4 separate regions of the Homo sapiens genome follow, and all the other regions are linked to region 2. The links are contacts of gene promoters, found by promoter capture Hi-C in blood cells and fetal thymus (Javierre and others, 2016). All regions are on one chromosome and are shown on one strand. The core of a region is centred on a gene start or on the middle of the fragment in contact, and the rest is flanking DNA. Distances in the headings are between cores, read along the strand shown.

Region 1 (7,358 bases), core at 3,893-6,392, 140 kb before region 2:
CGTATTTGAAGAAAACTGATCTTTTTGGGGAAACAAATTCCCTGAAATCCAATGCTCTCTTGTACTTTTTATTGGATATAGAAGGATGGTCCATATCAGTCTCCTCCAGCTTTCCCAAAGATCAGAGAAGCAGAGAAGATTTCTTTGTTGCTTTCTGTGGAGACCTGAAGACCACCCTGTGCAGTGGGTCTGATAGAAGGAGGCACTGACACCCCAGGTGCACTTGCAGCTTCTCTTCTAGTCCAGTTCCTTCCTTTCAGGAAGACTTCTCTTTCTCCATCCTTTTCTGGCTAAGAGGTTTAGAAGCTAAGAGATTGAGCAGCCTTCAGGATGAAAGAATGAAATAAAGGATTCCTCCATGTTGGTCAGGCTGGTCTCAAACCCCATCTCTACTAAAAATACAAAATTAGCTGGGCATGGTGGCTCATGCCTGTAAGCCCAGCTACTCGGGAGACTGAGGCAGGAGAATCACTTGAACCCGGGAGGCAGAGGTTGCAGTGAGCCGAGATTGCACCATTGCACTCCAGCCTGGGCAACAAGAGCAAAACTCCTCAAAAAAATAAATAAATACATACATAAATAAATAAAGGATTCCTGCAATAGGAGTTAGATGCAACTGGATGACTTCTAAAGTCCCTGGCAATTATAAGACTGTGATTTCTGGCCAGGCACAGTGGCTCACACCTGTTATCCCAGTACTTTGGGAGGCTAAGGCAGGCGGATCACGAGGTCGGGAGTTCAAGACCACCCTAGCCAACATGGTGAAACCATGTGTCTACTAATGATACAAAAAATTAGCCGAGCATGGTGGCATGAGCCTGTAATCCCAGCTACTCGGGAGGCTGAGGCAGAAGAATCGCTTGAATCTGGGAGGCGGAGGTTGCAGTGAGCTGAGATTGCACCATTGCATTCCAGCCTAGGCGACAGGGCGAGACTCCATCTCAAAAAAAAAAAAGACTGTGATTTCTTTGAGTGCTTATTTAAATAGGTAAATTTATGGTTAATTTAATGTTTTTAAAAAAATTTCATTCGTTTGTAGTCACTTGACCTTATAGTTAAGATAGAATATTTAAAGATGTTAAAAAGACAGAATTTTACAGTAAATTAATTTTTTTTTTTTTGAGACGGAGTCTCGCTCTGTCGCCAGGCTGGAGTGCAGTGGCTTGATCTTAGCTCACTGCAACCTCTGCCTCCCAGGTTCAATCGATTCTCAATCTCTTGACCTTGTGATCTGCCCGCCTTGGCCTCCTAAAGTGCTGAGATTACAGGCGTGAGCCACCGTCTCCATCCAGTAAATCAATTTTGAAAATAAAAACCAATACAGCAACATGACTACATAAAGATTAAAGGAACTATATGTGTTACGAGCAAATAATGTTTAGTATTTATTTTGTGCTTACTTTGTGCTTTTATATGCCTTATCTCTAATTCTTACAATAATTCTTTGAAGCAGTGATGATCATCCTCTTTTGCAGAGGCAGAGCTGAGGCACAAGGAGATAAGTAACATGTTTAAAATTGTATAGTTGCTATCTGAGAATGAAGTCAAACCCAGGTCAGTCTGACTTCCAAAGTCGAATTCTTTCCAATATAGTAAGTGCCTTTCCTAAACCATTGACAGTTGCAGAATTTTCGACTTGCAGTGAATACTAGAGGGTCCTCTCCAGTACCCCACCCAGCATAGAAGTCTTCTAAACAACATCTCCAGACCGGGTGTGGTGGCTCACGCCTGTAATCCCAAAGCTTTGGGAGACCGAGGCGGGCAGATCGCCTGAGGTAGGAAGTTCAAGACCAGCCTGACCAACATGGAGAAACCCTGTCTCTACTAAAAATACAAAATTAGCCAGCCAGGCGTGGTGGCACATGCCTGTAATCCCAGCTACTCGAGAGGCTAAGGCAGAAGAATTGCGTGAACCCGGGAGGTGAGCCGAGATCATGCCATTGCACTCCAGCCTGGGCAACAAGAGTGAAACTCCATCTAAAAACAACAACAACAACAAAACATCTCCAGCATTCAGATTCTGTGCTGGTACCGCTAATACTGTGAAAGGATTTGCTCACAAGGCAATCTATTCCAACTTCCCCAGAATCCTGAGATAAGATTTAATCAGGCTGGGCGCGGTGGCTCACGCCTGTAATCCCAGCACTTTGGGAGGCCGAGGCAGGCGGATCATGAGGTCAGGAGATCAAGACCATCCTGGCTAACATGGTGAACCCCCCCCGTCTCTACTAAAAATACAAAAAATTAGCCGGGCGTGGTGGCGGGCGCCTGCAGTCCCAGCTACTCGGGAGGATGAGGCAGGAGAATGGCATGAACTCGGAGGCGGAGCTTGCAGTGAGCAGAGATCGAGCCACTGCACTCCAGCCTGGGCGACAGAGCGAGACTCCCTCTCAAAAAAAAAAAAAAAAAAAAAAGGAACTTTAGTGTTCCATTTAAATATATTCCACCACTATTAAGATACCATTGGGGCCAGTCATGCTGTCACCTGTAATCCCAGCACTTTGGGAGGCCGAGGTGGGCAGATCACCTGAAGTCAGGAGTTTGAGACCAGCCTGGCCAACATGGTGACACCCCATCTCTACTAAAAATACAAAAATTAGCCTGGCATGGTGGCAGGTGCCTGAAATCCCAGCTACTCAGGAGGCTGAGGCACGAGAATCTCTTGAACCGGGGATGGGGAGGTTGCAGTGAGCCAAGATCGTGACACTGCATTCCAGCCTGGGAGACAAAGTGAGACTCTGTCTTAAAAAAAAACAAAAAAACAAACAAAAAAACAAAAAAAAACATTGCCAAAAAACAGCTAACAAATTTTATTATAAAAAGACTTACTGAGAGATCATGCTCAACAGTGTGGCTATTTCTTTTCTTTTTTTTTTTTGAGATGGAGTCTCGCTCTGTCACCAGGCTGGAGTGCAGTGACACGACTTCGGCTCACTGCAACCTCTGCCTCCCGGGTTCAAGCAATTCTCATGCTTCAGCCTCCCGAGAAGCTGGGATTACAGGCACGTGCCACCACACCCAGCTAATTTTTGTATTTTTAGTAGAGGCAAGGGTTTCACCATGTTGGCCAGGCTGGTCTCCATCTCCTGACCTTGTGATCTGCTTGCCTCAACCTCCCAAAGTGCTGGGATTACAGTCATGAGCCACCACGCCTGGCCCAGTGTGGCTGTTTCTTTCAGTTTGTACTTGGGTATAATTTTGTGGACACTTTACTGTGGTCAATCCTTGTTATCAGTTAGTGAATTATTTGCCCTATACCTCATCTACAGCAATCCGGATACTTTGGCACTTGCAGCAAACTGTTTTTCCTCCTTTTTTTTAGAAGGATGTTAGGTGTGAGGGAGAAGGAAGAGGAACAAAATAACGACAGAAGAATTGAGTAGAATTCTTTCCTCCAGCTGTTTTTTTTGTGTTTTTTTTTTTTAAATTACAAAGTATTAATAATTTATGAACAAACTCTTTGTAAAAATTTTAAGCAACAAATAATTTTTTTTTGAGACGGGGAGTCATCCTTGTGATTTGTTTAAATACATAAGGTTTTGCTATATGTGTTGTTTTGCAACATGCGCCTTGGGGATCTTTCCATGTAAATTATTTACCTTATTCATTTTAACAAATTGCAGAGTATGAGTGGAATGTAATTATTTTAATCACTATCCTACTGATGGATATTCAGGTTGTTTGCATTTCTTAGCTATGATAAACAATGTTGATAAGAGCATAAGAATGCATTAATATTAATTATTTTCATTTTAAAGATACCATTGGGGCATGGTGCTGGTGGCTCACATCTGTAATCCCAGCACTTTTTTGTTTTTTGTTTTTTTTGAGATGGGGTCTTGCTCTGTTGCTGAGGCTGGAGTACAGTGGCACCATCTTGGCTCACTGCAACCTCTGCCTCCTGGTTCAAGCGAATCTCCTGCCTCACCAGCTAATTTTTGTGTTTTTAATAGAAATGGGGTTTTGCCATGTTGGCCAGGCTGGTCTCGAACTCATGACCTCAGATGATCTGCCCGCCTTGGCTTCCCAAAGTGCTGGAATTATAGGCATGAGCCACCATGCCCAGACTCAAAAATATACATTTTTTACCTGGGCTTTGCTTGTGCTCAAATTTTAGTCCTTGTGGGTAGAAATAATTTTTAAGATGGAAAATAAATCTTACTAACTTAACTGACTGTAAGTTTTTAGTATTTTCTTTCTCTCCCTCCCTCTCTCTTCTTCCTTCCTTCCTTCTTTCTCTCTCTCTCTCCCCTTTTTCCTTCCTTCCTTCCTTTCTTTTTCTTTCTTTCATTCTTTCTTTCCTTTTTTTCTTTCTTTCTTTTTCTCTCTCTTTCTCTCCCTTCCTTTCCCCTTCCTTCCTTCTTTCCTTCCTTCCTTCTTTCTCTCTCTCTCCCTTTCTTTCTTTCTTCTTTCTCTCTCTGTCTTTCCTTTCTTTCTCTCTCTGTCTTTCCTTTCTTTCTCTCTTTCCCTTATTCTCCCTCTCCTTTCTTTTTCCCTCTTTCTCTTTCTTAACCTTTGAAAATACAATACATACAGGACATTTAAGATTCACTAGAAAAGAATCAGCAGCAGAGGAGGAGAAATCCTGCGTCATTTCTCCCCTATCCATAGCTAGTTATTTTAATAACAATAGGTGGCCAGGCATGGTGGCTCATGCCTATAATCCCAGCACTTTGGGAGGCTGAGATGGGTGGATCACTTGAGGTGAGGAGTTCAACAACAGCCTGGCCAACATGGTGAAACCCCGTCTCTACTAAAAATACAAAAAAACTAGCTGGGCGTAGTGGAGGGCACCTGTAGTCCCTGCTACTCAGGAGGCTGAGGCCCGAGAATCACTTGAACCCAGGAGGTGGAGGGTGCAGTGAGCCGAGATCGCATCACTGCACTCCAGCCTGGGTAACAGAGCGAGACTTCGTCTCAAAAATAAATAAATAGATAAATAAAATAAGATAGGTAACATTTGCTAAGCACTGATTATATGACAGTCTTTGTTGTCACCATTATATATATTAATATAAACTCAATTCTCATAAGATAATTAGGATGTAGTCACAACTATTATCACCATTTTGCTAATTTGGAAATTGTCAGTGGAAAAGTGAGAGAACCTCCACATGGTGTACCTCAAAGGCCTGGACCTTGAGGCCTTATTCATCGTGTGGTAAAAAGAAACAGAGCAGCTCTATCAAGGCACAGTGTCAGCGTATCTCAATCAGGAACTGTTCCACTCTTAATGAGGGTCCAAGTTAGGGTGATCAGCTCCTCTGTTTTGCCTGGTACTTTCCCAGTTTTAGCAGTGAAAGTTCTATGTCACAGTCAACCTCTCAGTCCCAGGCAAACCAAAATGGTTGGTCATCCCAGTCCAAGTAGTGTTTGTTTTGAGGGAAGGTGGGTTGGAATGTATCTGGAGCAGGTGGGTGGTATCCCTATTTAATAGTCAGTAAAGAGAGTTGACAGGACCCTCATTCACTAAAGTGAGTATCTTTTTGGCCAGGCGCAGTGGCTCATGCCTCTAATCCCAGCATTTTGGGAGGCCAAGGCAGGCAGATCACCTGAGGTCAGGAGTTCGAGAGCAGCCTGGCTAACATAATGAAACCCCGTCTCTACTAGAAATATAAAATTAGCCATGTGGTGGTACATGCCTGTAGTTCCAGCTACAGGGAAAGGGAGGCTGAGACAGGAGAATCGCTTGAACCCGGGAGGCGGAGGCTGCAGCGAGCTGAGATGGCACTACTGCACTCCAGCCTGAGCATAAAAAAAAAAAAAAAATTAAGTGAATATCTTTTGATAAATCCACCATATAAATAGTAAGCCAAGACTGTAGACTTCCCTTCACAAGGTCACTAGAATACTTACTCCCTGTGAGACAGGAAAAGATTAAAAGGAGATGAAGCCTACACCTAGGTTGCAATCTAACATATCAGAGGTGCTGTTATGCTAAGGGGTGCTAAGTGTGAAGAGAGACGTAATCTCACAAATTTTCTTTTTTTTTTTTTTTTTTTGGTTATCTTTTGTTTTAGATCTTTTTTGTGTTTTCTTTTTCTTTTTTTTTCTTCTTTATTTATTTATTTATTTATTTATTTTAATCTCACAAATTTTCTGATGGCAAAAGTTCCTACCTTTCCTTTTTCGGCTTTTAATGTCAGGCAATTTAAATGCAATGTCCCGCATCTATAGACCTACAGAATAGTCTGACTTTCCTTGTTTCAGCTGGTCAATAATCCGGGCTACTGCATTATTGATGTGGCACAGATCTAAAGTAGTATGTGCCTGTGTGTTTGTGTGTGAGTGATCTGAAATTAACCTCATTTTACCAAAGATAATATATCCCTTTAAGATAACATTTTAAAAAGGAAGGATTGCATTTTTTCTGACTAATCTTGACATATTTAGAGTTGCGAATAGGACAATTTGAAAAAAAAAAAACTCAAGTTAAAATTGCAAACGGATCAGAAAACCAGGAATCAGTCATGTTTCTTAGCAGATGGTGGGTGCCACGAGAGGGAAGGATGGAACCATGGTCATCCTTACAAAAGGAAACACGAGACATAGGTTTATTTGCTAAGATTTTATAAAGCCTGCCATAAATCTCATTTGAAAATTGCTCTACCTAAGAAGAGATGCTAAAAATGGCCTGCTCCCTGAAATACAAATAGAAGAGTAAACCAATGTTCACATTGTAGTACCGGTTTAGCTCTGAAATTACACTTAACACAGCACAAAGTGACAGAGCAAGTGACATCATTGACCAAAACTACATGGACAGAAGTCCTACAAAGCTCAGGGCTACTGCAGTGCAAGGTCATTGATTTTGCAACAATTTGTTTCTTTTCTGATTTAAAACAAAAAAGTGATTTTTATGCACCAGGAGATCTAATCTATTATGACGTTCATCTTTTAACAGTCATCATTTTTCTTGGAACGTGTCATACTATGTAATCTGAGCAATAAGAACATCAGAAACTGACTGGGAATGTGGTGGGAGATGTGGCCCTGAAAACACTGGAAACACATTGTCTCCAAGGCGAGGGTCACAGGGGAGTGAGACAGTGTTCTCCATAAGAGATGGGGATGTTCTGAACTATAATCAGACAAATAAATTACAAAATTCACCACCTCAGACTTTTTGATGGAAGAACTAAGGAATTAGTTGTACTCTTTGATGCCTTTCTGTTTGCCAAAACAATGGCCTTTCTGATTCTCTTCAGTACATATTGAACGCCTATGACAGGACTAGCAGCTGGCACCCTGGAGACCAAGGTTAAAGATGATCTGGACTCTTCTCCAGAGGAGCTTATGTCTTCCTGAATTCACCCCCTACTGCTCTCACCCGTGCTCACTTTATTCCTGCCATTTGG
Region 2 (7,061 bases), core at 4,196-6,695:
GGAAAGAGTGTAGCGGCTTTTGGGAAAGTGGTTCGAGATGGCTTCACAGAAGACTCTCTTAGCCTTGGTTGTGAGGGTGCAATAGTTAAAGAAGGCTGTTTCAGTTAGGAAAAATTGTGTGTAAAAACAAGGAGCATAAACCAGATTTTTATTCGCTAGATGAAAGTCCTTGCAGTTTTTCCCATGGTCTATTTGGAGAACCACTACATACTAGAAAGCTAGTATGACAAAATTTCAGGGAGTATTTCGGAGAATGCTAGGGAATGAAGTTGGAGAGGGGAATTCCATTCAGGACACTGAGAGCTATGGTAAGGGATTGGATTTTATAATGCGGGCAATGAGAAACCATTGAGGTGTTTTAAGTAAAGAGCAATATATTTAGTCATGAGCTAAAAAAGAAATAGCACTACCAGGCATCCACAAAAATGACCTTCTTTTCCTACCTCTGTCCCACTTGTTTGTAGAACCCTTTCTCATACGCACATTTGCATGGTGCATAACCATCTTTTCTAAAATTTGTGCTTATCTTAGCCCTTTGATGTTATAGGTATTGATTGTTGAAAACCAGATTTCATTTCATGAGTCCATTCTTTTATGATATTGTTGATTTCTGCCAAGATAAAAATGTTTTCAGGTTGAGAAACAGTGTATGGGTTCTTTATTATTATTATCATTTATTGAGATGGAGTTTCTCTCTGTCACCTAGGCTGGAGTGCAGTGGTGCGACTTCGGCTCACTGCAACCTCTCTCTCCTGGGTTCAAGCGATTCTCCTGCCTAAGCCTCCAAGTAGTGGGGATTACAGGCATGCACCACCATGCCTGGCTAATTTTTGTGTTTTTAGTAGAGAAGGGGTTTCACCATGTTGGCCAGGCTGGTCTCAAACTCCTGACCCCAAGTGATCTGCCCCCCTCCCCCAAGTGATCTCCCTCCCAAAATGCTGGGATTACAGGCATGAGTCACTGTGCCTGGCCTAGGTTCTCTATTTTTAAGATCATTTTATTAATAAACATTGTGAAAAATGGCTTGTCAGTAGAATCAAGTGCTTCGTATTTATGATGATGAAATGTGATCTCTTAAACTTTCAAATATAGTGAAGACTATTTAAAAGGAGAGAGTTTTATAGTTTTCCACTGTAGGAAGAAGATTCTAGGTTCGAATGAGTTAACTGTGACATATGGGAATTCATAGCCCATTTTGGTTTTTCACATATTTTTAAACATACTAAATTCAGAAAACAATGTTAAAGACTATGTTTTTGAAGAAGACATAGCTTGCTTTAAATTTAAAACACTAAATAGCAGAAATAAATGGGTACTTTATTTCACAAATTCTTACCCTAATTCAAAATGTTTCCAATTTAGAGAAATAAGCTTAGAAATGTGTTTTCATGGACTACCGTTTTTATACTGACTACAGTGTGAATAGTTATTTAGGAATTTCTGCCAATATTGTGAACAAATTAAGGCTTCAAAATATCTGCTGTGCAGTGCATACATATAGTGCGCATTCAATAAACATTTAGTTGAATTATGACAGTTCTCACTGTAATAAATTGGTTTCTTAAGCTGGATCCTTTATTTAATATTCACAATTTTCACATGACCTTTGGAACTTTTGGATGATGGGGGAAGTAGTGTGGAGAGTTACAGTTTACTACTGTAAAGAAGAAATCCATATTTTCTTAACAAACTTTTCACAAATGCTGTTCATGTCCATAATTAGACCCCCTTAGTGCTTCTAGATCTTATTTGATCTCACATTTAGTTCCACAGACATTTACCTAGAACCTATGGCACTGGTTTTATTGTTCTGATGTGTGGGTTTCAGTTGCTTAACATGTGTGTCCAGTTTTCCATTATTTCAGGGCAGAGCTCATGTTTTTCTTATCCTCCTCCTTCCTTTTATCCTTTTGTCTCTGTACCATCTTTTGACAGATTATAGGATATGGAATTCCAATTCCATATCAGCAAATTGCAGGTCACTTTTATTGAGAACACTTGGAAAAAAAGAAGTAAGGAGAATGGTGGCCCAGCTTGGTGCCTAAGGGCTCTGGCTCGGGTGTCAAAAGTGGGTTCCAATCCTCCCCTGATCACTCATTAATTGTGCAACCTTGGGCAAGGTACTAAACTTCTACAAACCTCCATTTCCTCATACATAAAATGAGGATGGCACTAATAACTAGCTCATAAGGTAGTTTTAACATAGGCCAGGTGCAGTGGCTCACGCCTGTAATCCCAGCATTTTGGGAGGCCGAGGCGCGCGGATCACAAGGTCAGGTGTTTGAGACCACCCTGACCAACATGGTGAAACCCCGTCTCTACAAAAAATACAAAAATTAGCCAGGTGTGGTGGTGTGCCCCTGTAATCCCAGCTACTCAGGAGGCAGAGGCAGGAGAATCGCTTGAACCCTGGAGGTGGAGGTTGCAGTGAGCTGAGATCACGCCACTGCACTCCAAGCTAGGTGGCAGAGCGAGACTCCATCTCAAAATAAATAAATAAATAAATAAATAAATGGAATAATGCTTACAAAACCTAGCACATGGTTATCACCAGATAGATGTCATGATTGGTATATAAATATAAATAAATGAGGAGGTTTTTCCAGTAAAACATTGGAGGAGGTAAAGACAGCTGAGAAAGCAACTACTGCCTTGGTACTACATTCTTTTCTTTATTAGAATGAGAACTCAGATGTGCTTCCGATGTCCTTTAGCCAGAATAACTTCTGGAAAGAGCCCAAGATATATTAACATGTATACTACAGAAAAGATTTGAACAATAGCCCCTCAGTTGTGCAAAGTAGGCCAGCATTCCAGAGAGCCTTCCGGACATTCGCTTTTAAATTTCTGTGTCCCTAAAACTATGGTGTAAACTGAAATGACAGGACTTACAGCTCTAAGTTATAAAAATCAGAAAGGACCAGACACATTTAAACAATGCCTCAGCATGCAAGCCATTTGTGATAAAGCAAATTAATTTCTAATTTTCTTATTGTAACTTAGGGGAAGTGGTCTTTTGAAAAATTCATATTAAGCAGGGGATGAAAACAGGAAATGGATTTTGCAGTCTTCAGTCTTAATTTAAGATGCCAAATGGCACTGACAATTGCATGTGCTGCCTTTGTTTTAGTGACGGTAAAAAGAAAAAACAGGTTGGGCGCGGTGGCTCACGCCTGTAATCCCAGCACTTTGGGAGGCTGAGGTGGGTGGCTCACTTGAGGTCAGGAGTTCAAGACCAGTCTGGCTAACATGGTGAAACCCCATCTCTAATAAAAATACAAAAATTAGCTGGGCGGTAGTGGTGTGTACTTGTAATCCCAGCTACTCGTGAGACTGAGGCAGGAGAATCGCTTGAACCCAGGAGGCGGAGGTTGCGGTGAGCTGAGATCACACCACTGCACTCCAATCTGAGTGACAGAGTGAGACCCTGTCCCCCAAAAAATAAAAAATGAAATTAAAATTAAAAAATAAAAAAACAGCTGGGAGTCTGAGGCAGGCAGATCACGTGAGGTCAGGAGTTGAAGACCAGCCTGGTCAACATGGTGAAACCCCGTCTCTACAAAAATACAAAAATTAGCTGGGCATGATGGCAGGTGCCTGTAATCCCAGCTACTCAGGAGGCTGGGGCAGGAGAATCACTTGAACCTGGGAGGCAAAGACTGCAGTGACCCACGACAGTGCTACTGCATTCTGGCCTGGGTGACAGAGCGAGACTCTGCCTCAAAAAATAAAAATAAAATAAAAAATAAAAATAAAAAACAAATGAAAACCAACCAAACAACAACAACAAAAGCCAAAAATAAAAATGCCTGTGAGAGATTTCTTAGAGTCACTCATTATTAGTTCATGCTCCCAGTAGAGATATTTCTTCAATCAAGTCCCAGTTTCCTCCTCTTTTATTGCATTCTTTCGTGAAGAAAGCTTAAAGAAATGAATTCTTGTCCTTGGAAATGAGGGAGGACTATACTATGCTTTCTCTAGAAGGCACTACTGTGTGTTTGAGCATGTTTTTCAAATAATTAGTAGGTGTGAGTGGTTCTGCCAATAGACATACTACATTTATTTTCAGTGATCACTTGAAAAACACACCTATAAGCTTATAATTGCTGACATTAACAAACAACAGGTATGAAGATGCTGTTCACAAAAAGTGCATGTAGTTCCATGTGTTTTATTTAGTCTGTTTGAAATGAAGTTTAGCATATCTATAGCACACAGCATGAAACATGTCAGTCATTTTGAATTTAACATTGTGCATAATGTATTCATAAGAATTATATTTATTTATTAGCATTTATCTTCAAATCAAAGGTTAAAAGTTTCAAGATGCACAAAAATGGTTAACTTTCTGTGAGAAGTCTGAGAAATCACTGAAGACATGAAAATGACAGGCTGGAGGAAGAAGTAAAGAACCTAGAAGGCCAAAATGGAATTCTAAGATAACATGAATATAGAACATAGAAAAGAGAAAGGATTGATTGAAAAAAGGAAAGGGGAAAAAAAAGGAATTATTAAATGGAAACATTAGATTCAAGTAAACCCAAAACAATCATCAAAGTAGATGTTAACAGCATTTTGAGTACATGTTGTGAGTATGAGAAGTGCAATTCTAAATGTTAGGCCCTTATGTTTTAACATATCAGCAAATACAATATTTTGTTTCTAATTTAACAAATTTTTAAGACTTATGTTAGTTGTGACATATTTCCAATAAATAATTATGTTTCCCAAGGACACTGGGTACAATAAAGTGGGTCTGACAATTAACTTACCTTTGAAACCTGAGCCCTTCATTAGTTACAGGAATAGACTGGAACATGATTTTTCCTCTCCTGCTTGGAGAACCCACAAGTTGTGTTTTCTTTATGAATATTGGAAATTCTTTCTTTTAGCCAAATGAAGGGTGTGCATTTCTTCGGCCAGGAGTTACCAGGCTGATAATCCTGATGCAGCGGTTCTCAAAGTCTCCTCAGAAGGCCCGCAGTAGCACCAGCAGCACCAAAGGACTTGTTGGAAACACCAGTTTTCTAGGCCGGGCACAGTGGCTCATGCCTGTAATCCCAGCACTTTCGGAGGCCGAACTCCTGAGGTCAGGAGTTTTGAGACCAGCCTGGCCAACATGGCAAAACCCCGCCTCTACTAAAAATACAAAAATTAGCCGGGTGTAGTGGCGGGCACCTGAAATCACAGTTACTTGGGAGGCTGAGGCAGGAGAATCACTTGAACCTGGGAGGCAGAAGTTGCAGTGAGACAAGATCACACCATTGCACTCCAGCCTGGGCGACAAGAGCAAAACCTCTGATTAGAAAAAAAAAAACAAACAGGCGCCGTGGCTCACGCCTATAACCCCAGCACTTCAGGAGGTTGAGGTGGGCGGATCACCTGAGGTCAGGAGTTCAAGATCAGCCTGGCCAATAGAGTGAAACCCCGCCTCTACAAAAACATGATGGCGCGCGACTGTTTCCCATCTACTCAGAGGCTGAGGCGGGAGAATCGCTTGAACCCGGAAGGCGGAGGTTGCAGTGAGCTGAAATCACGCCATTGCGCTCCAGCCTGGGTGACAGAGCAAGACTCCGTCACAAAAAAAAAAAGAAAAAAGAAACACCAGTTTTCTGATTTCACCGAAGACCTACTGCCTCAGAAACTATGAGGGCAGAACCCAGCAATCTGTGCTTTCTTTCACAAGCCCTCCAGGAGTTGCTGAAATTTAGGAATCATTGCCCCAAAAAGTGGCCCTCATAATGATGCCAGGTAAGGAAAGACAACATTATTACCTATGTGTGGTGTGTTAACATTCTTTATGAAACATGTGTGAAGACCTAAATCGAAGACTTTCTCCATGAGATATTCCCTAATCACATTAGTGAAATAAAACTATATTTCCTCTACTTTTCTACTGCTACAGAAATCTCCCCCAGTTAGGATAGTCCCAGTTTCCTATTTATCTTTGTTTTTCTTGCAGTGCACAGCATGTCACCCAGTAATTGATAAGTTTTTTTTTTTTTGAGACGGAGTCTTGCTCTGTCTCCCAGGCTGGAGTGCAGTGGCGCGATCTCGGCTCCCCAAGTAGCTGGGACTACAGGCGCCCGCCATCACGCCCGGCTAATTTTTTGTATTTTTAGTAGAGACGGGGTTTCGCCGTGTTAGCCAGGATGGTCTCGATTTCCTGACCTCGTGATCCGCCCGCCTCAGCCTCCCAAAGTGCTGGGATTACAGGCGTGAGCCACCGCACCTGGCCTAATTGATATGTTTAAATGTTAAAATTAAATGCAATGATTTCCTAAAATAAACAAATGTGGGACAATTTATTGCACTCTGTTCAAATTCCCATTTTGAAGTGGAATTCAAACAAACATGACAGTAAAGGGGGACAGTGAGCACAGGGACAAGAGAAAAGGAGAAAGGGAAGAAATACAGAGAACTAGATAGGAGGAAGTGTCAAAGACTGATGGGTGTAAGCCACCTTTACCTCTGGATATTGGTTTTCCTTTGAATTGTGGTATGTGGTCATATTGCTTATTAGTTATAACATACAGCTGTCAGAAGAGTTTTTCAATTAAAATTTCAAATGTAATATTAAAACTGTTTGGATTCCTTCCTACTGGGCACTGGACACTGTCTGTGGAGCTGCTGGAACAGCGCTGAATAGGGTCATATTTTAAAGGAACTCAGCCTAGTGCAGTTTCTCAACCTTAGCACTATTGGCCTTTGGGGCCTGATAATCCTTTTTTGTGAGGGGCTGTCCTGTGCACTGTAGGATGTTTAGCAGCATCCTTGGCTTCTACTCAGTAGATGACAGTATCAACCCCCTTCCCCAGAAGTGACAATTAAAAATGTCTCCAGACTTTTCCAAATGTCCCCTGAGGAGCAAAATTGTCTCCAGTTGAAAACCACTGGGTTAGTGGGAGAAACAGATAAGACAGAAGTTCTCCATACACCATGATAATGCCATGATGCCATAGGGCTGGCAGGAGTGAAGGGAAGAGCATCTCACAAAGACTCGGGGGGATGCAGGGAGGAGGAAAAATTAGGAAATGAAGTGGGCTGAGTTGCAGTTAGCC
Region 3 (7,412 bases), core at 3,833-6,332, 200 kb before region 2:
GGGTTCAAGCGATTCTCCTGCCTCAGCCTCCCAAATAGTTGGGATTACAGGCGCATGCCACCACGCCCAGCTAATTTTTGTATTTTTAGTAGAGACGGGGTTTCACCATGTTGGCTAGGATGGTCTCCATCTCTTGACCTCATGATCCACCTGCCTCAGGCTCCCAAAGTGCTGGGATTACAGGCGTGAGCCACCGTGCCTGGTCCTATACCATACTTTTAATCATTATTTTATAGTGGACTCCTTGTACTTATTTTAAAAAGTTAACTGTAAACAGCCTCAGGCAGGTCCTTCAGAATGTACCCAGAAGAAGGCATTGTTATCATAGGACGTGACAGCTCCATGTATGTTATTGCCATGAAGACCTTCCAAGTGGGACAAGATGTGGAGGTGGAAAGCAGTGATATTGATGATCCTGACACTGTGCAGGCCTAGGCTAAGGTGTGTGTTTGTGTCTTAGTTTTTAACAAAAAATTTAAAAAGTAAAAAACTAGTAAAAATTCTAAAAATGAAAAAAAGCTTATAGAATAAAAATATAAGGAAATAAAATATTTTTGAGCAGCTGTACAATGTGTTTTAAGCTAAATTTATTATAAAAGTCAAAAATTTTTAAAAATTAAATAGTTTAAAAAAGTAAAAATGTTACAGTAAGCTAAAGTTAGTTTACCTTTGAAGAAGGAATAGGTTTGTAGCATAGGAGCAATAGGCCACACCATATAAGCTAGGTGTGTAGTAAGCTATACCATCTAGGTTTGTGTGAGTACATTCCCTGAGGCTAACACAAGGACAAAACCACCTAACAACACATTTGTCAGAAGGTATCCCCAGTGCTAAGTGACACATGACTATAGTTTGCCAACCCTGATCTAAAGCTGTAATTCAAGAAAACTTAAAATATTTACTAGTTTGAACATAAGTATGTAGTGAGCCCAGACTGATTAATTATGAGTTATACTCATTTCTTTGTTGATTTGTTTAATAAATGCTGTATTTCTGAGTGATAATCATATAGTCTGGTCCCTTTCCAATAACTTTATACCTATATTCTATTATGAAGATGTAAACTCTGAACTTTAGTTTAATAATAGCATATTTCTGGACCAGGAATTTAGGTTTTTAAAAAGTTTTTGCTACAAATACTTAGGTTAAATCTGTCACAGAAATGATGTATCACATGCTATAACTGCAAAATAAGGGACAGAGAGATGAAGGTTAAGATGATGCATCCCAGAGAGTTGGTCTTTCATTCTGCTATTCATTCAAACAATATTCACATGTCAACATGTGCAAGGCACTAGAATGCATTCCTTGGAGAATTCCAGGATGACATAGACATAAACATGATCTTCAAAGTCTCCAGTGCTTTCTTTGGATAAAATGAGAATAGAATTGCCCTGGCCTTGGGAATTAGTTTAGGGAGAGCACATGACCAAGCTAGAACAAGTGGACTCTTGCCATGAAATTTTAGCCTCAAGTGGAATACCTTCGCTGTAAGAGCATGCAACTATGTCATTGAGGAGACAGTTCATTCGTTCCTGCCCTGTGCTACATAGAGTTGCCCTTTTTCCAAGGATGTTTGGTTTGCAAAGGGGATTAAAAAGAAATCATGCTGGAAAAGTAAGTTGGAGTGAGCTGTGGTGAGCCTTCAAAACCAGAGGGAGGAGCATGAACTATATTCTATAGATAAAAAAGCTTCTTCTAATACCATAATTGATTTTAGTGGGTTAGCAATAAACCAGGTGAATACAACATCCATGTCCATGATGTGCTAAAGACCAGCCTGAGTTATGCTAGGTAGAAGGCTGATTACAGATTGGAAGTATTTGGCATTCCGTGCAGATTTTCCTGTTCTGCTGCTCTACAGCAGGGTTTCTCAACCTCAGCACTGTAAGAATTAAAGAAATAGGAAAGAAACATGAAGGGTGGCTCGACAGTCAACAAGGACAGGTTTATTTTAGAAAACAAACCTGAGAGGGGCTTCTGGCCGAGTTAGGTCAGAGCCCACTCTCTTACACACTAAGAGGTTTTAAGGATTCAGGGTGGAAGAGTTTATCAGAGGCTTGGACTGCTTCTGTGTCTCTTTGTTGTGCTTATCTGGGAGGGAGAGTTGTGTGTCTGTTCCCATACATCTTTCTGCAGCTGCAGGCATACCCCCCAATTCTGCTTTTAGCTTCCCTAACTTAGTGCACCTGAAGGGAAAGGAATGTGCTTATTGGGGCCCACTGTTTTACCGGGGCCCATTGTATGAGGGCGAAGTTTGGCAGTTACCCAAGAGCCTTTCCCCCCACCTCTGTTTATCTGTGTTTTACTGTCTGCTCTTTCTGGCTGCTTGTAGTTAGAAGAGAAGTGATTTCCTTGAAATGCATGACACTAGAAAGAGAGCTGGAACTTAAAGTGGTGGTGTTTGTCCAACATGACGGTGCTCCTGCTCTGTCAAGCACTGGTGACATTTGGGCTGGATAATTATTTGTTGTGGGAGACTGCTCTGTGTCTTGCAGGAGGTTGAGTCTCCACCCACTAGATACTACCAAGTAGTACCACCTCTCCTGCTACAATAGGAAAAAATGTCTCTAGACACTGGCATGTGTGCCCTGGAGAGTGGTATAGTTTCCTATTGCTGTGGTAAGAAATTATGACAAAGTTAATGACTTAAACACAAATTTATTCTCTCACAGTTCCAGAGGTTGGAAGTCTGAAATGAGTCTTATGAGACTAAAATCAAAATATTAGCAGGGCTGGTTCCTTGTGGAGGCTCTGAAGGGAGAATCCATTCCCTTGTCTTCTTTCAACTTCTAGTAGCCACCTATATTCCTTGGCTTGTGTCCTCATTTACCTCTTCAAAGTGCATCTTTCCAAACTTGACTTCTGTCATCCTATCGCCCTCTCCTCCACTCTGACTCCTTCTACCTTCCTCTTAGAAGCACTGTCGTGATTCTCTTGGGCACACCTGCATAACCCAGGCTCATCTCCTTATCTCAAATCCTTAACTTAATCACATCTGCACGGTGTTTTTGCCATGTGAGGTAATGTTCACAGGTTCTGTGAGTTAGGATGTAGACATGTTTGGGGGCCCATTATTCAGTCTACCACTAGGGCAAAATTGCCCCATGTTGAGAACTACTGCCACAGAAGAATGGGGCCAGATAACCTAGATTTGAGTCCCAGCTGCACTTACCTACTAGCTGTGTGACATCAGTTTTCTGTTTTTTCTTTTTTTTTTGGTGGGTGGGGGAGACAGAGTCTTCCCCTGTCTCCCAGGCTGCAGGGCAGTGGCGAGATCTTGGCTTACTGCAACCTCCGCCTCCCAGGTTAAAGCAAGGCTCCTGTCTCAGACTCCCGAGTAGCTGGGACCACAGGCGTGCGCCACCACACCTGGCTCATTTTTGTATTTTTAGTAGAGATGGGGTTTCACCATGTTGGCCAGGCTGGTCTCAAACTCCTGACCTCAGGTGATCCACCCGTCTCGGCCTCCCAAAGTGCTGGGATTACTGACGTGAGCCACCACACCCGGCCAACATCAGTTTCTCATCTGTAAAATGGAGCTAGTAGTAGTACTTACCCCATGGAATTTTTTTTTTTGAGAAATAAATGAGATAAAGCACACAAAGTCAAGCAGTTATCAAAGTCCTTGTGATATGGTTCTTAATACTTGTTACCTATTGAAAATAAAAGTAAAGTTACATTTAGGATTTGTAAATATGTGGATTAACTTCATGGACAAATGTAGAAAATGACAGTGGTCTCTAAGGAACAAGCCCCTGGCTAACTTGGAGTAAATAGCACAATCATAATTGTTTAATTATGAACATGCTCTAATTCTCATGCCACTCTTACAAGGTATGTGAGGTCACACAAGAGTTTCTCCAATAAGTTTTTATATATTTATTGAAATGTACTAAAAGTTTCTATTTTATGCTTTTTACATGTAGTAACTCATTTAATGCTCACAGCTACTCTGAGACATAGATAATATTGTTATTCCCATTTTACAGATGAAGGAACGAGGGCACAGAGAGATTCGAGTTGTCACCCAAGCTCACATAGCACCAGTGACAGAGGTGAGATTTGAATCAGGCAGCCTCTGTCTAGAGTTCCCTTCCTAACCTCCATTCTATACTGCTTTCAAAGATCCAGCCCTTCCCTCAAATCACGTTTTCTTACTTAGACTAGGGTTTGATTCATGTTTACTCACTGGGAATAAAGGTCAGTTAAACAGAATGAGAGAACAGGAAAGTCTTTCAAAATGATGCTTCTGTCTACTTACATTGTCTGTTACTTTAACAACTTAGGGATTCTTGGAGCAAGTAAAGAACCAAATATAAAGACTGCTTTGTGGGAGGTAGCTTGGATCCTTCATCATTTTTTTTCCCCCCATAACTCCTGAGTTCCACTGGAGACACAGATTCTCTGGGGGTAAGATTAGCGGATTCGTATTTTAACAGACCTCTGGCGGTTCTTCTCTATGCTAAAGTTTGAGAACACTGCTTTCAGCATTTCTAATCTCATCTCAAATTCATCAGGGAGCTGTTTCCTCCTTCATGAAAAAATCTTTGACTTAATGATAGCTACCCAGGCCTACCTTATTAGCTAAAGGGGGCATAGAGACTTAACTCTCAGTGGTTGACAATTATTGTAAAGTAATTCTTGCCGTTATTTTTCTCCCCTAAGGGTAAACTTAGCAGCAAATGGCATACTAGTAACTTAACCAATTGAAAGGGTAACAGCAAAACTAACAACCAAGTTTGCTTTTGATAGGTAGAATTGGCTGCCTATAAGGTGTGACATGAAAGTTGAAGGAAGGCTCACTTTTGCAAATATCTTTCCCACTGTTCTGCCAGGGGGAAGCAATTTTTTGGTTTGGGTTCCCCTAAATTCCAAATATGTTACCTAGGAGGAGTAATAAGTTATACATTAAACTGTTATGATTCAATCACAGCTTTAAAAAGATCGCAAAATTAGCTCTCAGGTTACTTAGCAAATAACCAATTAAGGTCTTGAGAGGATAATATTTGGGATGGGAAAATTTAGGTGGGTAGAAAAAGGCTGAGCAAAGTCAAGAATGTAGGCTGTTACCAAAGGCCAAATGGCAATACTGGACCAGCATATCTTCTTCTGCTATTTCCTTTATGCCCCTGAGGGTTCTTCTGAAGCAGGAGTTGGCAAACTTTTTCTTTTCTTTTTCTTTTGAGACAGAGTCTCACTCTGTTACCCAGGCTGCAGTGCAGTGGCATGATCTCAGCTCACTGCAACCTCCACCTCTGGGACTCAAGCGATCCTCCCGCCTTAGCCACCCGAGTAGCTGGGACCACAGGTGCACACCACCACACCCAGCTAATTTTTTTGTATTCTTGGTAGAGACAAGGTTTCACTATGTTGCCTAGGCTGGTCTCAAACTTGTGAGCTCAAGCGATCCGCCTGCCTTGGCCTCGCAAAGTTCTGGGATTACAGGTGTGAGCCACCACACCTGGCCGCATACTTTTTCTATAAAGAACCAGATAGAGGCTGGGCATGGTGGCTCACGCCTGTAATCCCAACACTTTTGGAGGCTGAGTCGGGCAGATGACCTGAGGTCAGGAGTTCAAAACCAGCCTTGACCAATATGGTGAAACCCTGTCTCTACTAAAAATACAAAAATTGGCTGGGCATTGTAGCATCTGCCTGTAATCCCAGCTACTGGGGAAACTGAGGCAGGAGACTCGCTTGAACCTGGGAGGCAGAGGTTGCAGTGAGCTGAGACTGCACCATTACACTCCAGACTGGGCAACAAGAGGGAAACTCCATCAAAAAAAAAAAAAAAACCAGACAGAAAATATTTTAGGCTCTTCAGTCATGTGGTCTCTGTCGCAACTGCTCAACTCTGCCATTGTAGTGTGAAAGCAGCCATGGACAATATGTAAACAAAACAGTGTGGCTGTGCTTAGTTATGAATCCTAATATTTGAATTTAATATAATTTTCATGTTATAAATTTTTAATTATCTTGTTTTTTCTCAACCATTTAAAATATGAAAATTATTCTTAGTTCAGGGCACATATAAAAACAGATGGTAGGCTGGATGGGCCAGTTTATTGATCCCTGTTCCAAAGCAAAATCAATTTGCTGTTTTCAATACATACTCCATGCTATCCTACTTCTTTACATTTGCTTTCATTATTCCTTCCACTTACGTAGAAGGAGCCCTACACACCCCAACCTACATGCCCATATGTACCCATCACCTAGTTCAATTATTAGCTTATTTTCAAAGTAAACTCTCATCCTCTAAGTGCCTTCATCTATACTTCTCTGATGGCCTTGATCATGGCAGATTTGTATTACTTTGTGGTCTGTGATTTTTTTTTAAATTTTATTTGTTTACGTATTTATTTATTTTTGAGATGGAGTCTTGCTCTGTTGCCCAGGCTGGAGTACAGTGGCACGATCTCTGCTTACTGTAACCTCCGCCTCACGAGTTCAAGTGATTCTCCTGCCTCAGCCTCCCGAGTAGCTGGGACTACAGGCACACACCACCGCGCCCAGCTAATTTTTGTATTTTTAGTAGAGATGGAGTTTCACTGCGTTGTCCAGGCTGGTCTCAAACTCCTGAACTCATGATCCTCCCGCCTTGGCCTCCCAAAGTGCTAGGATTACAGGCATGAGCCACTGTGCCCAGCCAGGATGTTTTATTTTTATATCCTCCATGGCACCGAGCCTAACAGAGTTAGCAAAGTGTCCTAAGTCAAGGAAGAACCATCAGCATTTAGGAAACAGCATAAAGATTGTACCCGGCCAAAAGTGGAATGAAAGTAGTTAAAAGAGAAGTGAAAACGTTTCTGAACACCTATAGTGGTTTGAATGACAGCCTCCCAAAAGATAGGTCCTTGTTCTAAAACCTGAACCCGGACAGGCGTAGTGGCTCACGCCTGTAATCCCAGCACTTTCAGAGGCCAAGGCAGGTGGATCACGAAGTCGGGAGTTCAAGACCAGCCTGGCCAACGTAGTGAAACCCCATCTCTGCTAAAAATACAAAAATTAGCTGGGCATGGTGGCGTATGCCTGTAGTCCCAGCTACTCGGGAGGCTGAGGCAGGAGAATCACTTGAACCTGGGAGGCGGAGATTGTGGTGAGCCAAGATCATGCCACTGCACTCCAGCCTGGGCAACAGAGTAAGACTCCACTCAGATAATAGACAGATAAATAAATAAATAAATAAATAAAACCTGGACCCTGTGAATGTGACCTTATTTGGAGAAAGGGTCTTTGCAGATGTAAGTAAGTGAAGGATCTTAAGATGAGATCATCCTGGACTACACCCAATGATAAGTGTCCTTAAAGAGACAGAAGAGAAGACACACAGAGAACGCCATGTGAAAATGGAGGCAGAGATTGGAGGGATATAGGCACCTGGAATGCAGAGGGAGTGAATTCCTGCC
Region 4 (7,366 bases), core at 3,104-5,603, 170 kb before region 2:
GTAGACAAATACCACACAACAGAAAATCTAAATCGTATTTGTCAACTGGTATTGTAGTTGCATGTATGAATACATTTTTAGTGATGGGAAGGGACAAGAGGGCAGAAGCATATTACATAGCAAGGACCAGCCAACATTTTTAATTTATCCTGGATTATATTCACAAGATCAGTCTGAAAAATTTACCCAGACACAAGTATTTAAGATGAGGTCATTAGGCTAATTTATTTGTATTTTTTTTCCTGGCTGATGCCTGAGCTCTACAAGGTAAGTGCTTAATGTTATTTTGTTAATAGTTCTTGCACTTATCTAAAATTTAAGAATGTGTAACAAGGATTTCCTGTTAACTTCTGAGTTGACTGAAAAATTACCCCAATTCCTGAGCAGCTTTGGTTACATTATCAATATATACAGGCTGAGGTCCTGTGGTGTCAATAAAAATCATCATAAAAAATGTATTCAACACAGATTAGCCAACTAGAAAATAATCTGTAACTTCTTTCATCTTGCTCTTAACTACTTAAGTATCCTTAGCAACATCCCTACCCATAATAAAAGGAAAGTGGCACTTAGCAGTTGCAGACAAAATGGAGTCTTACATTTATGGCACAAAACAAAACAAAAAAAGTCTTACATTTATTAACTTTACTTCTATGGCTGTAACAGAAATACTCTGGAAGAAAACACAGAAACAGTCTTTGCTTTTATATAAATTTAAAACCAGCACTTGTGCATAGAAATAGCTATAAAATATTAAATGGCACTTTTGTATTCTGTTGTACTTTTTTTTTTTTTTTTACATTTGCTACACGGTATTTATTCAATGACTGTATATTTAGTCACCACCTCAACCACTGCTAAGCTCTCTTCATGTCTATCTGTACCAGTTTCCCATCTTAGACTGTGATGTCAACTGGCAAGGGCTGGCTGTTGGCCGATTCACCATGACTGACATGGTGCATGTTCACTTGTTTTTAAAGCAGATTGTACAAACAGGAGAAACAAACAGGGGAAACTGTATTTCCAGTTTCTTTTTGTTAACAGCCTGTTGCCTCACCCATGCAAACTCTTCTAGCTAGTTTAAGGCTACATAATCTTATTGCTAATCAACCAGCAACCATACCTATCACTCTCCAAAATTATAAGTTAATACTTATGGACAAAAACCACTATTGAGAACTTTGCATTCAAACAGACAAGAGTCGGCCAGGCGCAGTGGCTCACACCTGTAATCCCAGCATTTTGGGAGGCCGGGGTGGGCGGATCATGAGGTCAGGAGATCGAGACCACCCTGGCTAACACGGTGAAACCCTCTCTCTACTAAAAATACAAAAAAACCCAAAAAACAAAAAACATTAGCCAGGTGTGGTGACGGGTGCCTGTAGTCCCAACTACTCCGGAGGCTGAGCCAGGAGAATGGCGTGAACCCGGGAGGCGGAACTTGCAGTGAGCTGAGACCATGCCATTTTACTCCAGCCTGGGCGACGGAGCCTCTGTCTCAAACAAACAAAACAAAACAAAAACAGACAAGAGTCAAATCAAGTCTTTGTACATATTCAAATATTTACATGTGGAAAAGATTAAATAACCTTTCTAAATTATGAGTTACCTAAAATGTATGTGTGCCTTTGAAATGGAGGATATGGGACAGCTTGAGAGGCTTTGCTTCTCAGTGTGTATTGATAAATCCATGTGAATGTTATTACCAACCCCCAAAATACAATAATAGTATGCTTAACATCTTGCTATTATTAGATTATTTCCCCAATTTTAGTTATTTCCTAGCAACTTTATTTAATGCAGATCTCTTGCAAAGAAAGCCTTACGGAAAAGAATGATTCTAATGACTTTAAACTGCAAGTTTAAATAACAAATCTTTATCTTTTCACTATACAACTTGATGTAACCAATCCTGTTCTCAAAGTTTTCTTCCCAAGTTATGGAAACCATTATTCCAGAACATTAAGACAATAGCAAATACAATGTGCCAGGCACAGTTTTAAGTGTTGTCACCTTCACACTCCTGAAGGTGGTTGCTGTCTTCATTTAAGAGATGAAGCAGTCCAAAGTGGACCTAAAATAACTTGCCCAAAATCACGGGCTGGTTCCAGGGTCCCTCATCTTAATCACTATGCCATAATGCTCAGAAACAGCTTTCCCTCACAAACTAATTTTCCCCACGTTGTGGGAAGCCTACCTAGGATCAAACCTGAGGCTCTAGTTTTACAGATCAGGCACACTGAAGATGAGGTTTTCAAAAAGGACTCACCCATTTATACTGCGAATTCATGTGGTCACAGCCTAACAAAACTTCAGGTCATGGGGGTGTAAATATTTGTCTGCTTATGTAAGGGAAACATGGTATATTATTAAATTGCTTAATATCTGTACATTTCAAAGGACTTCATGGCCTTGCATTCAGGTTTGAATGCAAGAATTTGGGTAGAACTGAGTCCTCTCAGGTGCCTTACACACTGATTCCCTTTCTCCCCAGTCAATGGACAACCCTGACAAATCTTTGTTCTGATCTGGTTTAATGTTTCTTGTAAAACAAACAAACAAAAAAAAAACAAAAAAAACTGATTGGCCGGGTGCGGTGCCTCACGCCTGTAATCCCAGCACTTTGGGAGGCCGAGGCGGGCAGCTCACCTGAGGTCAGGAGTTCAAGACCAGCCTGACCAACATGGAGAAACTGTCTCTATTAAAAATACAAAAATTAGCTGGGCGTGGTGGCTGGTGCCTGTGATCCCAGCTACTTAGGAGGCAGAGGCAGGAGAATCACTTGAACCCAGGAGGCAGAGGTTGCAGTGAGCCAAGATTACGCCATTGCACTGCAGCCTGGCCAAACAAAAATCTATCTCTTGCTACTACTCAGACCTTCAGAGTGATGGAGTCCGAGGGCTCATCTTACCTTCTCTATACCACTCTTACTTCCATTTTTAACTTGAAAAATTAAGTTGCCCTTCTAAATCTTCAACTTCTAAATTTTCAACTCAATTGTGACTTTTCATATTCAGAGAAATACTACCCTATGTCAGTATAGGAACTTTGACATACATATGTACCTCCCTAACTTGAAGCAAAAGTAGCAGCATGCAAAGAACTGACAGATAAAACTAGGGTATTTCCACCCCAAACTCCATCACAGAGAAGCAACAGTTGCACTCTGGTAATCATTTACCCCAGGTAAAGTCAACATGTACCTGTCACCCCTTGTTCTTTATGATCTGGCATAAACGCTACAGAGACCAAGTCCATGGGTGAATCTCTGTATTAGAGCCAAACCCAAAACAGAAATAAAACAGAACTCTTTTTGTAAACTAAGTCATACCTACTTTCTTCTTCAGAATTGTCATAAAACATCATCTTTTACAACATGGAGAAGCGAGGTAGGCCATAATTGTTCAAATTTCATCTTTCTCAAATTTTAAAATTGTTTTAATCCCAAAGGTGCCTATTGAATTCTTCAAAAATAAACTGCCTATCAGGTATCATACCTGCAAATGCTTCTAATATCTCTTGATTATCACTTGAACAAGTTCAGCGATGGCAAAGGAAAAAAAATTATATAGCCATGTAAAGTAACATTTTCTAATTTTCCCCCTTTAGGACTCCAACTATGGCTTAAAAACCCAATGAACAAGTGAAGTTTCCCTCTGTACATGGCTTTTATTATTTACATAATACAATATAGCATCAATGCTGAATAGCATGATTATGTGCAATACATAAATATGAACTATCTGTACACATCTGCAGGTCTAACTCAGAACTAAGGTACATAAAATTGAAAGCAAAACTGAATGCTTTAAGAATAAAAGTAAAAACTAGGACTGAACATTGCAATAAATCAGAAGTAGTGCCTCGTGTACATACTTAACTATTTACAGATGAAAACAGGCATTACCACAACACTAACTATACTCATTTATATATAAAAAACACAAGTTTCATACATCACAAAAAACCTTCCATTATAACACAGAAGTGATTATTACCAGACAAGCATCAGTGAAGTATACTGCCTTTTCTAGTTGTTATTGTACAATGCTGTAGATAATGCAGCCCATGCAATACACCCAAGAACACTAGAGTCCTACACCCAAGTACAATATGATAAAGCAGCCCTCTGCAAGTGGTGCTGGATACCACTAAGAAGTCTACTGCAGCCATGTTGGTTATGATTTTCCATGCAGAAGGGTACAGTTACATTAAGAACTGAAGTCTTTTAAAAAGCTTTAAACATTCTTTCTTGAACCAAAACATTCGACAAAAGATGCACATGAAAAATTATTCAGATACCTTTGCAACTTAAAATTCAGATGCATGTTATTCAATAGAGCTGCTGTATGTGAAAACCAAACGTAGAGTTTAAATTTCTTCTTGTAAACAAATTAATCCTAGTGCAGTTCTGTGCTACACATTTTTAGCAATGAGTAATGCAGACATCTTCTGGTGCAGGCCAGTACAATAAGCTTCAAAGGTTATCTCAAGACCCTGTTGTTGGCTTGATGGTTTTACTTATAACCAGTTTCGATGTTTACCTTTCACAGAATGTCTTATTTGACAGCTTTAGATGACCAATTTAACCAGGCTTATATATGGCGCCAAATACTGGTTTCACGGGAAAGAAGGTCTGATCCTCTTTATGAGCATTTCTTCCTGCTTCCAAAGAATATGTTGTGAAATTAAAGAGGGTGAAGTTTAACTATGGTAGAAGTAGACTGCCAGTCCTTTTCTGGTGTACCATTTTAAAAAAATACAGGCACATAACACTAGCCAAAGATTATACCTTGATTACATTCCCAAAAGGCAGATATGCTGCAAACATGCAGAGATTTCATTTATTTTGTTTGGCACATGGGAACTACATTTTGTTCCTATTATCTGTGTGTTTCACTTTGCTGTGCAGATTTTCATCCAATTTTTTTCAGGGGAGGGCATATACATTTGTAGGGCTGTATCTATCCAATTCTGCCTGTAACAAACACCCAAACATCCTAAAATATCAATTATAAGACAGACAAGTGTAATGTAAAACTCTGGAGAACATCAAAGAAAAATGGCCATGCATCTGCTCTTTAATGTTTTCCTACGATATATTAAAATAAAAACAAAGTTTCAGTCTCTTCACAAGAAGTAATTTATATTCTCTGAATTTTTTCAGCCACAACAACTGGATTCTCTTTTCTGATTTTTGCTGCAGCTTCTGCTTTGTAATCATACGGACAGTTGTGCTTGTCAGAGTAACGGTGAAGTCCACAAAACAAATTTCCACATCGGCAGTCAAACCCTGTACAAACGAAGAAGTAGAGTCATTTGAGAACTTGAGGCAATTAAAAGAAAAAAAAGCCTTAGTCACTATAGAAAAGGAACCAGATTTTCATTGCTTTGTAACATAAAAGACAGTGAACTCTTTTCTTCCACTTCCTGGTGATAAGACACAGTCAACTCTTACAGAGTCTATCACGTTAACCTGGAAAAGGAACTTTTAACTTCCTTTGACATGGTGAGAAATTCAAATAACTATGTTCAGTCTTTCCTTGCAAGGGCAATAGCGAAGTGTTTGGTAAGCCAAACCACGTGGAGAAAACAAAATGGGCTATCTGCCAGCTAATTTCTCCCAGATGCTCTCCCTCTATCGACTCCTGTAGATGCAACGCAGGATAAAATTTACACAGGCTCTGGAGTTAGGCTAAGCTGGATTCAAAACACAGTCCTACCATATCTTAAGTAATGCTTCCTCAAGTGAAAACAACCATCAAGGTCTGAGATTTGAAGGAGACAAGAAAAAAAGCACCAAGAACATTCCCTGCATAGCTCAAAGTAGGTGGCGCTTACTGTTAGTTCAGTAACATTTTCCCTAGGTATACAAAAACTTTTTATCAATCTAATAAAATAAGAGGGCCTGAGTTAATAGTTTTATATGATTAGGAGACAAATGGAAGTAAAACCCAACTTCTTTCCACCCCAATACCACCTCCTCCACCTTTCCTAGACTACAGCTAGTCAGGCTTTTTTTTTTTTTTTATGTGTAAGACCAACTAGTCTCTTAGGGAGTGACCAAAAGCTCCTTGTTAACTGCAGAAGTAAAACATACATTGTCTTGTGTTTTGTAATACCTGTAAGACCAACTTTCTTTCTGCACATGAAACATCTGTTTTTCTTTGGTTTGGGCAATTCAGGAGCTTTTTCTTCACTCTGAGAAGTACTGGGCTGAGAAACTGATGGACTGGGCTGAGTGACAACTGAAAAGGACAAAAACACAAATTTGTCAAGCATTCACTGGCTAACATTTTTAAGTCAAAAAAGGAAGTATTTAAGAGAAACAGGAAGATGCCTGATAAAAATGTTTATAAGTATTCCTTGAAAATACAAGCTTTAAACAGAATCTTCCATTTTAACATCAGAACTTGATTCAAATCTGAGAAATTCCTGCCAATCACCATACTACTTGCTTCTCTAATTTTGTAAAATGATCGCTTCACTCAAGAAATTCCTTTAAAACACTGGTAACAGCCAGTACTAAAAACAAAATCCTAATTCTGTTTTAAAGAGCTGGGAGATGTTAATCATATGCTCAGTTTTTCCACGTTATAATTTCCTAAATGCAAACTTTTCAATCAGGGCAGTTCAAATTCATTACATCACAGTAAATAACAGTAGCCAACTTTGATTTTATGCTTATAGGAAAAAAAATCCTGTAGATATAAAAACAGCAAATTTTGACAAATAAAACTCAAACCATTCATCCCTAAATCAACGTCAGATCCAAAAATTCCAAAACAATCATTTTACCATTTTCACAGGTGCACTAAACATCATAGGAAGACTTGAAAGATTTTTTTAAACCTTGGTTTTAAAAACAGATCGGCAAACAGTCTTTAGAAACTACTCGAGAAGTATTGATTTTAAACTATTAAGGATTCCACAGGCAGAACAAGAATCTTATCTAAAATGGGCATCCACTATCGACAGAGATAGCATCTACAAACAGTCCCACCGTTTCTCCACCTAAAAAGGCTTTAAGTTTCAGTGTACACATGGCATCAATAAAATTTCTCACAATGAACAAAAAATACATTACTGTACTAAAGCCCACACTGCCACTAGTTCTTTAACACAAAAATAACAAAATTTATATCTACTTACATATAATTCAACTACACCTGAAACACTATAAACTCAGGTTTTAATATTAATCCAAATGTAACAATAGCAAATTTATGTATGCAATGCTGAAATTACTGCCCAAATATGCCAGCACCAATGCTATTAGCATATAGACAAGCTCCTACAACAAGCTGATTGATTTAATGGCAATTTTCTCTAAAACTCTGCCCAAATTTATAATTCAATTGCATTA

The links. Contacts are between HindIII fragments. The CHiCAGO score rates a contact against its expected background, and 5 or more counts as called.
Region 1: a fragment that was not itself captured here is called in contact with the fragment with the promoter of TMC1 in region 2 in 2 of 17 cell types (M2 macrophages and endothelial precursors); the score reaches 5.7 in M2 macrophages.
Region 3: a contact is called between a fragment that was not itself captured here and the fragment with the promoter of TMC1 in region 2, in 7 of 17 cell types (non-activated CD4 T cells, naive CD8 T cells, activated CD4 T cells and 4 more). The highest score is 9.4, in non-activated CD4 T cells.
Region 4: a fragment that was not itself captured here is called in contact with the fragment with the promoter of TMC1 in region 2 in 6 of 17 cell types (endothelial precursors, M1 macrophages, non-activated CD4 T cells and 3 more); the score reaches 12.9 in endothelial precursors.

The regions. Positions count from the first base shown.
Region 1 is chr9:72,375,728-72,383,085 of GRCh38, forward strand. No RefSeq gene overlaps it. Among named protein-coding and RNA genes, the nearest start is that of ZFAND5, 14 kb to the left of the region's middle. The HindIII fragment of the contact is 6,804 bases long and covers 1,741-7,358 here.
Region 2 is chr9:72,516,163-72,523,223 of GRCh38, forward strand. It overlaps TMC1 (transmembrane channel like 1), which reads left to right and starts at 5,446. Exons shown (of 24, transcript NM_138691.3): 1 at 5,446-5,751. The HindIII fragment of the contact is 6,235 bases long and covers 4,095-7,061 here.
Region 3 is chr9:72,320,997-72,328,408 of GRCh38, forward strand. The region is part of intron 2 of LINC01504 (long intergenic non-protein coding RNA 1504); the gene reads left to right. Among named protein-coding and RNA genes, the nearest start is that of LINC01504, 19 kb to the left of the region's middle. The HindIII fragment of the contact is 6,784 bases long and covers 1,691-7,412 here.
Region 4 is chr9:72,350,809-72,358,174 of GRCh38, forward strand. ZFAND5 (zinc finger AN1-type containing 5) reads right to left here. Exons shown (of 7, transcript NM_001102420.3): 6 at 6,123-6,248; 7 at 605-5,293. The coding sequence ends at 5,145. Among named protein-coding and RNA genes, the nearest start is that of ZFAND5, 11 kb to the right of the region's middle. The HindIII fragment of the contact is 239 bases long and covers 4,235-4,473 here.